Regions from separate parts of the Homo sapiens genome. Here regions 1 and 3 are each linked to region 2. Evidence: promoter capture Hi-C in 16 types of primary human blood cells and fetal thymus (Javierre and others, 2016). All regions are on one chromosome and are shown on one strand. Each heading gives the region's core, a stretch centred on a gene start or on the middle of the fragment in contact. The rest is flanking DNA. Distances are from core to core; before and after follow the strand shown. Region 1 overlaps TMEM164 (transmembrane protein 164). Region 2 holds the start of KCNE5 (potassium voltage-gated channel subfamily E regulatory subunit 5). Region 3 overlaps RTL9 (retrotransposon Gag like 9).

Region 1 (3,298 bases), core at 16-2,515, 530 kb after region 2:
TTCTTCTTTTTTTTTTCTTTTCTTTTCTTTTTTTTTTTTTTGTCTGAGACGTAGTCTCACTCTGTTGCCAGGCTGGAGTGCAGTGGCGTGATCTCAGCTCACTGCAGCCTCCGCCTCCCGGGTTCAAGCGATTCTCCTGCCTCAGCCTCCCAAGTAGCTGGGACTATAGGCACGTGCCACCACGCCCGGCTAATTTTTGTATTTTTAGTAGAGACGGGGTTTCACCATGTTGGCCAGGATGGTCTTGATCTCTTGACCTCGTGATCTGCCCACTTCGGCCTCCCAAAGTGCTGGGATTACAGGCATGAGTCACCCTGCCCAGCTGAATTTTTACCTTTCTATGTAATTTATCTTTTATGGCATCTGAATTTAGAGTCATGGTTAGAAAGCCCTTTACTACTCCAAGGTTATAAAAAATATATATCCCATATTTTCTTCTGGTATGTTTATAGTTCCTTTTATTATTATTTTTTACATTTAAGTCTTTTATTCACTTGGAATATATCCTGATATACAGTGCAAGATAAAGATCCAACTTTATTTCCAGCTGGCTTCCCATTTGTCCCCACACTGTTTATTAAATAGTCCAACATGATCCAATCTGCTTGTGGAGAAGATCATATTGGCTGCTGTGTGGAGAAATCACTGGGTCCTCCTGCTCTTACCTCCTAAATATCTCTCAGACTCATCCTCTCCTTACCATCTCTAGGACCAGTACCTTGGGCCAAGCCTTGCACATCTCTTCCCTCAATGATGATAATTGGCTCTGTGTGATCTCTCTCCAGCCAGCCTCCTTTGCTCCCCCTAAGCCCATTCCTGGAGCTACTTCTATAGCTCAAATAGGATCATAGCTCTTTGTCATTTGGAAGCTTTCAGTGGCCCCCCATCTTCCCCAGTGCACAAGACCGTATGACCTGATACCCAACCCCTTCTCCAACCTCATGTCTTTACACTCCCTTCTTTATACTGTACACTGTGGTGATACCCAAATCCTTGGGGTTCCCTGAGTATTTTATCCAATTTTCATGCCTCTGTGCCTTTGAAAATGCTGTGATTTCTGCCAGGAATGCTCTTCTCCAGCTGTGGGCCTAGAAACATTCATTTGTCAAAACTCATGTCAGTAGTTACTTTCTCCAAGAAGCCCTCTGTAACTATTCTACCCCAGCTCCCGCCAGCTGCCTCTGTTCCTCCCATTTTTGTCATCCTCACAGTATAGTCTTTACATGCTGGTCTCCCTGAGGACAGGAATTTTTCATTTCTTCTTGGTATGTAGGTGATGAATGAATGAATGAATGACCTTCTATTCAGGGATGTATTCCTGTACTGCAAATTGCACATAATTTATTATACATCTTACAAGCTAATGTTTACTAGGCACTGGGTTTGTTACATGTGTGATCTTGATCTCATTTAATTCCCACAGTGTCCACTAGACTTATGGGAGTACATCACGTGAGGCCCATGACCTTGAATGAGAAAAATAATCACATCTTTATGTCCATTAACTGCAACTGAAATACAGTCATCTCTCGGTATCCATGGGGAATTGGTTCTAGGACTTCCCCCACCACAAATACCAAAATCCAAGGATGCTCAAGTCCCTAATGTAAATGACGTAGTATTTGCATCTAACCTACACACATCCTCCTGTATACTTTAAAGGAAGCTTGTCTAACCTGTGGCCTAGGATGGATTTGAATGTGGCCCAACACAAATTTGTAAACTTTCTTAAAACATTATATTTGAAAAAAATTTTTTTTCAGCTCATCAGCTATCAGTAGTGTATTTTATGCGTGGCCCAAGACAATTCTCCTTCCCATGTGGCCCAGGGAAGCCAAAAAATTGGACATCCCTGCTTTAAATCATCTCTAGATTACTCATAATACCTAATACAATGTAAATGCTATATACATAGTTGTTATACTGTTTTTTATTTGTATTTTTTTTTACTATTGTTATTTTCATTTTTAAAAAATATTTTTGATCTGTGGTTGGTCAAATCCACAGATGCGGAACTTGCAGATATGGAGGGCCGACTTTGTGGTATATCCTTTAGTAAGGAATGTAGATAACAAACCACAGTTACATTAGCAGCACTTGGCATGCTGTTGTTAATGTAAATTACACTTATTTTCCTCTTATGTTAGAGTTGTTGCAGATATCTCAAAAAATCATTGGCATTCATCATTACCTCAAAATTTAAAAACAGATGTGCCTTTTAAAAGCATTTTGATAACTATAGTTCAACATGATTATTTTCTTTTATAATCCTATATATTCTATTTCGTATACTTAAATACTTTATTCTGAGAGAGAGCCTTTACACTTCCCCAGACTGCCCAAGGAGTGCATAGTACCACCAAGGTTAGGAGTCCCTTTACTAGAGTTTATTTTATTTTTATTTTTTTGAGACAGATACTCACTGTGTCACCCTGGCTGGAGTGCAGTGACCTGATCTTGGCTCACTGCAACCTCTGCTTCTCGGGTTCAATCAATTCTCGCACCTCAGCCTCCAGAATAGCTAGAAGTACAGTCACATGCTGCCACGCCCGGCTAGTTTTTGCATTTTTTGTAGAGATAGGGTTTCACCATGTTGGCCAGGGTGGTCTGGAACTCCTGGCCTCAAGTGATCCGCCTGCCTCTGCCTCCCAAAGTGCTGGGATTATAGGCATGAGCCACTGTGCCTGGCCTGCACTAGAGTTTAAACTGGTGTTTGAAACCAGGTGGGCAGAGATGCCTCTATGCTGCCTGTCCATGGAGTCGCTGGATTCAGACAGACTGTAGGTACAAATCCTAGTTATCCCACTTGCTAGTTAGTTCTGGCATTTGGTCGAGTACCTTGACCTCTCTGTGTCTGTTTTCTCACTTGCAAAATGAGGGTAGTAATAGTACCTACCTCATAGGGTGTTATGAGGATTCACTGAGCTGATACATGAAGAGTATACAGAACAATGACTGGCACATAGTAAATACTATGTATTGGGTTTGTATAATTATTAATTACCCACTGTTCTGCCTTGTGTTAATTATTCATCTTTCTTCCAACTAGACTGCCGTCTCTAGAGGTCAGGATTGTGCCTTGCTGTGTTCTAAAGCCGCAGAACCTTGCATGAACTGAGAGCATGCTTGTCAGTGGATGTAACATTACTGGTCCTCCCTCCTTTGAGACACTTGTTTCTCCTTTGAGCTCCAGGGTACCTCTTTCTCCTGGTTCTCCTACTTCTCTGGTTCTTTCTCCTTGGGCTCTTTTGCTCTGCCTGCCCCATAGATCCTGGTGTTCTTCATCAATAGAGATAAC
Region 2 (3,664 bases), core at 894-3,393:
CACCTGTAATCCCAGCACTTTGGGAGGCCGAGACAGGCGGATCACTTGAGGTCAGGAGTTTGAGAACCTCCTGGCCAACATGGTGAAACCCCCCGTCTCTACTAAAAATACAAAAATTAACTGGGCATGATGGGGCACATCTGTAATCCCAGCTACTCAGGAGGCTACTTGGGAGGCTGAGGCAGGAGAATCGCTTGAACCCAGGAGGCAGAGGCTTCAGTAAGCCTTGATTGTGCCACTGTACTCCAGCCTGGGTGACACAGTGAGACTCTGTCTCAAAAAAAGTAAAATAAAAACAATTATTAAGGTGGCTTCTAAAAATTAGGTTTGATAATAGCTAAAAGGGATGGGCCTTAAAGGTTTTTTAAAGTGCATCCTGAAAGACTGCATTGTGATCTTTGAAAGTGCTTCAGAAATAAGAAAAAAGGAGGGATAAGTAATAAAGTAGGTATAACTTTTGAAACACTTGAAAAAACAACCCATTTAGCCATATAAACATTTTCTTCACCCATAATCACACATATCAAATTGGAACTGGTTACATAGATATAAATATCACAACCACCCAACCCCCAAATCCAAACATCATTTCCAAAAGCAAAAGAAAAAGGATTCCTTCTCCATATGGTACTGGGTCTTAAGGCTGGAATCTCTGAGAGAAGAGTCTTGCGTTATTGTTTAAACAACCTTTATTACCTGCCTCTGACATTCCCCAGGGTTACAGAGCAGGGGGCATCTGAGCCTCAAGTTCCACGGATGAAGCAGACACTGCAATAACAACTGAATCAATAGAGGAGAGGCATTTGGAAGTACTGGGGTGATACACCCAGTAATGGTAATCCTCAGCAGAAGATGGCATAGCTACCAAAAATCAGGCGTTACCACTGGGATGAAAACTGGGGAGGCAAGAAAATCATACGGTTGGAGTCATAGATCATTTCCCTCCCCGTTGAGCACTCCTCCCCCTTCCGTCCCCCATTAAGTTCATTCTATCCCACAGACTGGTCCTAGTGTCCTGCTAGCTCCCTGCTGAAAGAGAGAGGGAGGGAAAAGATGTCTGAGGTCTCTTCATTTCCTTTGTCTCTGTCCCTAAGGCAACTGGAAGCTGGAGCTGCTGCAGTCGGCCTGGCAAGCCCGTTGGCTCTGCAGAGTGAGCAGTCCCTGGCAGCCCCTGGAGCAGCTGCCAGTTAGACGGCCCAGAGTTCTGATAGAATGCATTGCTTCAGTTCAGTGCCAAGTGTTGGACGTGTTGGATTCAGTTCCCAGAGGGCTGGAGCGTGCTGTCAGGGCTGTCTGAAGACAAGAGAGCAGAGGCAGTTTAGTGCAGTTGGATGTGCGGGGTAGGGGTGGAGGCGCAGGGGTGAAGAGGGAGAAACTGGCCCGAATGGGTAAGGTGGTGCTTCTCCTTCCAGGGCCTTCCAGACAAGGTCTCCTGGCCTCTCACCATTATCTGGGCCTCAGATGAGGCGAACCCTGGAAGGGAGTTGGGGGTGGAAGGTGGGAGGCGCGCCCAGGGATGAGCGAGATGAGGAGGGCGCGAACCAGCAATCTGGGGCTGTGGTTTTAGACCCGCTCAGCGCCCTGGGCGAGGGCAGGCAGCCCCTCGGAGGCAAGCTGGCGGCGGCCCTCGGCCTGGGAGCCCGCGGCAGCCTCGGCGTCGGCGGTCAGGGCGCCTCCCGGGGCCCATTCGTGCTCGGCGCAAGCCTGGGACGGCTCGTCCTTGGCCTCGACGAGCTTACGGGAGCGGGTGTAGGCCAGGATGAGGCCTCCGGCCAAGCAGGCGTAGAAGATCATGATGAGCAGGATGTAGAGATAGGCGTCGTCGCCCTTGGCGCTGGTCACCTCGCGGCCCACGAAAGGGTCAGGCACGACCCCCATGCCCATGCTGGGACGAGGGCCAGCGCCCAAGCCGCTGGCATTACCCCGGTGGTGCAGCTCGAGCAACAGGCGGCTCAGAAGGGTTCGCAGCCGCTGGCTCTCGCTGCAGTTCATGGCTTTCGGGGAGTGACACGGCGGCTCCAGGACGCTGCTGACCTTTCCCCCTGGGCGAGGGGAAGCGAGCTAGCGAGCGGGCCGGCCGGCGGGCAGGGCTCAGCAGCGGAAACAGCGGTAGCACCCAGCTCTCCGGCGAGCGCGCAGTGGCTGGGGGCGCCGACGGCGGGGCCTCCTTATTCCCTCACTCCCGCCCCTCCTCCCCTTCCCCACCACGCCCCCTCCGGCCCGCGGCCGCCTCTTCCCAGGCTCTGGCTGTCTCGCTGCTCCAGGGAAAGGGGACAGCTGGTGGGGGGAGGAGAAGGGGACAAGAGTGGGGGCGAGGCTGGGAGACGGGCGGAGGGGGCGGGGGCTCGGAATGCGCGAGGCCCCAGGCAGCAGACGCTGGCAGGGCAGCTTGCTGGGGCCAAGCCTGGACCCTGGGCTGCGGAAGAGAATTCCTTCCAAGTTCTGGCCACCTGCCCTGCAGGCCAGGCTTTGGCCCAGATACAGCATTTGGCCCCCTAAGGCAGCTCTGCCTTGGGGCGCTCAAGGGAGAGGGCAGACGCCTTTCCGCAGCAGAGACCCCTTGTCCACATTTTATGGAAGTTACTCCCATATACAGGGACCCAGGCCTATCTTTCTAGTCCTCATTCCTTTCCTTTTCCCCCCGCCCCCCTTTTCACCCCCCTCCCACCTTGTCGGAGGAGAGCATCTTATTCAGAAGATGCTCAGGCTGAATTTGGTGACTGAGTGCTCAGGCACCTGCTAGAAGGCCAAGGCAGAGTAGAACTCCCTGGTTATCCAAAATGGTTTCTGGTGATATAAGTGATATTACACCTTCTTGGAAGCACCCCTGCTCTGATGTCCTATGACACTTTTTGAAAAGTCAACACATCTTAGCACATGAATGTACTATTCATAATGGGAGCCTGTTTCCCATGGGTAAGTAAGCCATCTTCCCAGAAGTGAAACCAAGTTCTTCCAATAAGAGTAGCATGCACATTTTAAAAGGCCCTTTGACTACACTCTGTGGATATCTCGGGATCTGAAAAGTGCCAGTTCTAGAGAATATGCTCACCCTACTCCCAGTTAGGCCAGCAAACAGCTGTGTGCCTCTCTAGACTTGGTAACAGGTCTAGGCCCTAATGGCTTTTAGGGCAGCCATTTTTTTCTCAAAGGCTGTCTTTTTTTAGGGGAAAACAAGGCACCAAGACAAAGATCAGGCCAGATATGTTAAATTGGAAACAGACTGAGCTTCACAAAGGAAAAGGGTTGGTTTGTAGATGGTGGGGTAGAAAAAATGAGGTAGTGCTGGCTAGGTCTGGTTGTCCATAGTTGCCAAATGAGAGCAGAAAGCAAGAAAAGTGTATGACCTTAGGCACACCTTGAAAATAATGCTGCCTGTTCAAGACCGTTCAGTCCAGGGACCATTCAATCTATAGGTGCCATGGGTTAAAAAAGGAAGGTTTTCCGATGCCTCTTCCCCAACCGTTCTTCAGCCCACCATCCACCCAGGGGCTGTAGCCTTCTGTGTGTTCAGGTGAGGTTGGCACCAAACTGTATCCAGGGTCTCAAACAGAGCCTTGCTTCACAGCCTCTAAACAGGCCTCAGAGACATTCCACATGACCCTGACACTGGCTCCCTTCTAATCACCTTGCCTCAATATTCTCACCTCAGAGGGCCTCAGGA
Region 3 (3,347 bases), core at 667-3,166, 780 kb after region 2:
CTGCCTAACAATTGCTGCTTGTCTCGCAAATATTTTCTCTGTGAAGCTTTCTCAGTGCCCTTAGGTACCCTCATGGCCCTCCTGAATTTATCTCTATTATAATGTTTTATATTTTATGGCAAGAGTTTGTTGGATCTTTGCCCACTTGAATGTGAGCCCCTTGAGAACAGGGACTATTTTATTTATGTCTGAGTCTCTAGGGAACAAAAGAGGGATTCAGGGCTTATGTGGTAAATGAATCAATGAATGCTCCCAGTTCTTCGTCATCTTTAGAGGCTACTTCCAGGGCTTTTAAATTTGGACTCCCTTTTCTTCCAAGAGGTGGTGAGAGCAGGGTAGGTGGACATGATATTTAATGAATTTCTTTTAAGTGCCAGACATTGTGCTGAACCATTTACACAAACAATCTCACGTCTCAAGTCGATGTTTTTATTTTCATCCTCGTTTTACAGATGAAAGTGGAAAATTCAGACCAGTGACTTGCCACATTCAGAGGAGTAACAAAGATACATAGCAAGTAGGCTGCAAAGCTAGGATTTGAACGTAGGCTCCAATACCTGCATCAGCTCCCTTGCACTGTGCACTCTTCCCTCGCTTGTGTGTATGGTGAGCAGAGTCAGCTCTGGGCAAAATGGTGAAATAAGCCAAGTTTGTCTTTAGTGTCTTCAGACTCCCAGTGTGTCTCGGGGACTCAGTACTACAGTGCCACCTACATGCTGCAACACCTACTATGGCTCCTACAGGCAGCCCATCCTGCTGAGAGCTTCTCCTTCCTAACTCCTCTAAGACCTTGACCTCTGGTTTGTGTTTTCTGAAGGTAAACTGCCTTAACCTAACCTTTTCCAGAGCACATATTATATTTATTGGTGCCTTCCCAGAAAGCAATCTTTAGCTTAGGAGCAGGTAGCTCCCACGGGAGGCATGTAGGTGTTTCTGTGTTGTGGTAAGGGGAAGGGGTTGTCTGGGGGCCTCTATCAAGATACACCATGGAGGCTTCTCCTACAACCAAAGGGTGTTTGGCCCCTTTCTCAGATGGCTGAGGGCCCTGGAGTCAGATCAATAAGCATTTGAATCTTGGCTCTGCCATTCACTGATTGCATGATTTCCCACAGTTAATCTCAGTGAGCCTTCGTTTCCTCCCCTGTAAAATGGATCTAATAATAGTTCTCATCTCCTAGACGTGTTGTGAGGATGACATGAGATAACACACTTACGGTGTCCAGTACAAAATAAGCATGTAAAAATGTTAACTGTTCCCTTAAATCAATTTTTAGTAGTCTTCTGCCTCACCCCCATAACCATCCAGGTCTCTCTTCGCTTCCTTGTTTCTCTTTTCCTCTTCTCACCAACAAGTCTCTTTCTTCAAAGTCTCCCTTTCCTTTCCCAACTCCCTCCCACCAGTACGCTCAACCTTTGGCAACCCTCTGTCCCACACTTTCCAGGTCAATCCCAATTTCAGATAATCTCTCTTGATATCAAACTGCATGACCTGATTTGAATCGGAAAACAGAGTGAAACAGAGTCCCTTGCTCTGAGGAATGTTGCTATGGTCTATCTTAGATCAAGAAGACAAGAGCTGCCTTGGCAGCCCTACATCATAATCTGATGAGCATGAAGAAGGCTCACCTTGCCTATAAATATTTGTTTTTTGCCTATGAGTGATGCCAGAAACCGTCATGGTCGGCATACAATTCCTTTGAGTCAAATTGCAAGGTTTGTCTGTCAGGGTTGCCTTGGTAAGGCAGGGTTATTATTTATATCTGAGTGCAAATTCCTTGATCAGAGCCTTTCCTGTCAGGGAGAGGAGACGGAAGGGTTCCAGGGAGCCTACTCCCCACGGAAGAGGAAGGCTGTGCTAGCATGGATGGGGTATGTGAGTGTGGGAGCTCAGCTGACTGAGAGCTGTGTCCCCGGCTCCATTTTGCCTAGGGGCGAGCCCTGTGTGTTGCAACAGATGTGTGCTTTGGAATCACCAAGGTTGGGAAGCCAGGCCTCAGAGGGAGTGGCTGGAGGCTGATCTCATCCTGAAATGATGTGGGCTTGGATTCCCAGAGGGTGGAGAGGAGGACCAGTCCAGAGAGAAGGACATGCTTTTGGAGGGAGGTCTAAAGACAAAAAGAGGGCTTTAGTTATTTTTTGAGCTTAGGTGTAGGTGATGGTTGGGGGTAAGTGACAAAAGAAAATAGGTCCTGAAAGGGGGGTGTCTCCTTTCATGATTAGGAACAGAAGAATGAACTCAAGGACTGCCCCCTTTTCTTCAGGAAGCAAACAACTTCTGAGGGTGTGACAGGGTTCACTGGGTGTTCCCCTTTAAGGGAGGTTAGCCCCTACGTGAAGCTGCTTGGCTGGTAGAGGATAATTGGGTGTTCCCCAATCCAGATAAGCAGAAGCTCAGGTGCCCCTCCCTGTAGGCTTTTCAGCTTTCTTTATCACTTGCTAGGCAGGCCCTGCCATCCTTGGGAGTAGGTATGAGAGAGGGAGTTGAGAGGCCAGGCTTTCCCTGCCCCTGTTCTTCACAGAACACAGCTGAAAAAGGAAGGCCAGAGATGTGACACCCCCCAGCCCCAGGGATTCTACCACACATTGCAAACCTCACAGAGGATGCTTATTCTACAAAATTTGTGGGCATATTCATAGGTACTATGGAGCTAAATAATTTGAAAACAATAACAAAACCCATTTACTGATTATTTGGTTAATAAAGACCTCATTCCTTCAAAGTATGTTGCTAGGAGCCACTGAAAGTGGACTTGACCTGAGGAGCAGCAAGGAGCTTCCTCCTGCTGTATACACAGACACACACAGACAGACAGACAGACACACACACACGCATGCGCGCACACACATGCACATGCCCGGATCCTTCTCCAAACACGTCCATGATACCAGGGCAGCAGAATTGGGGCACATTAGAGACACAGGCTCTGCCCACATTCTGAAGCTCCCTGTCATTCCCAGGTCTTGGTGCTTGGCCAGACTCCCCTTACCCAGACTCATAGCCTCATAGCTATCATTCCAAAACCCCAAAAGCTCTGGAAACTGAGAGCCTTTGTACGTTTATGACAAACTCATTTGGCAGCGCAACTTGAACTGACATGAGGTTATTTATAGTCTTTATTTTTCACACCCTGTGTGAATATTCATGTGTTTTTGCTCCAGAAATATCAATGTACTTGATTACTGGGTACTGCCTCAGACCCCACTGGAGGTGATATATATGTGCTGTATACACCCAATCGCCTTTTAAAAGTCCAAAGCATTCTGAATTCCTTCAATTATACTAAGCCTCCCACTGTCTTATAATGATCTGTTTGGCATGTCTCCCTCATTAGCCTGTGAACTTCTTC

The links. Contacts are between HindIII fragments. The CHiCAGO score rates a contact against its expected background, and 5 or more counts as called.
Region 1: a contact is called between a fragment that was not itself captured here and the fragment with the promoter of KCNE5 in region 2, in 1 of 17 cell types (neutrophils). The highest score is 5.6, in neutrophils.
Region 3: a fragment that was not itself captured here is called in contact with the fragment with the promoter of KCNE5 in region 2 in 1 of 17 cell types (neutrophils); the score reaches 6.6 in neutrophils.

Annotation. Positions count from the first base shown.
Region 1 is chrX:110,152,030-110,155,327 of GRCh38, forward strand. All of the region lies in intron 5 of TMEM164 (transmembrane protein 164), which reads left to right. Among named protein-coding and RNA genes, the nearest start is that of SNORD96B, 71 kb to the right of the region's middle. The HindIII fragment of the contact is 797 bases long and covers 868-1,664 here.
Region 2 is chrX:109,623,029-109,626,692 of GRCh38, forward strand. It overlaps KCNE5 (potassium voltage-gated channel subfamily E regulatory subunit 5), which reads right to left and starts at 2,144. Exons shown (of 1, transcript NM_012282.4): 1 at 672-2,144. The coding sequence starts at 1,992. The coding sequence ends at 1,564. The HindIII fragment of the contact is 6,764 bases long and covers 1-3,664 here.
Region 3 is chrX:110,400,639-110,403,985 of GRCh38, forward strand. The region is part of intron 1 of RTL9 (retrotransposon Gag like 9); the gene reads left to right. It also overlaps a transcript of AMMECR1 not described here. Among named protein-coding and RNA genes, the nearest start is that of RTL9, 43 kb to the left of the region's middle. The HindIII fragment of the contact is 3,744 bases long and covers 45-3,347 here.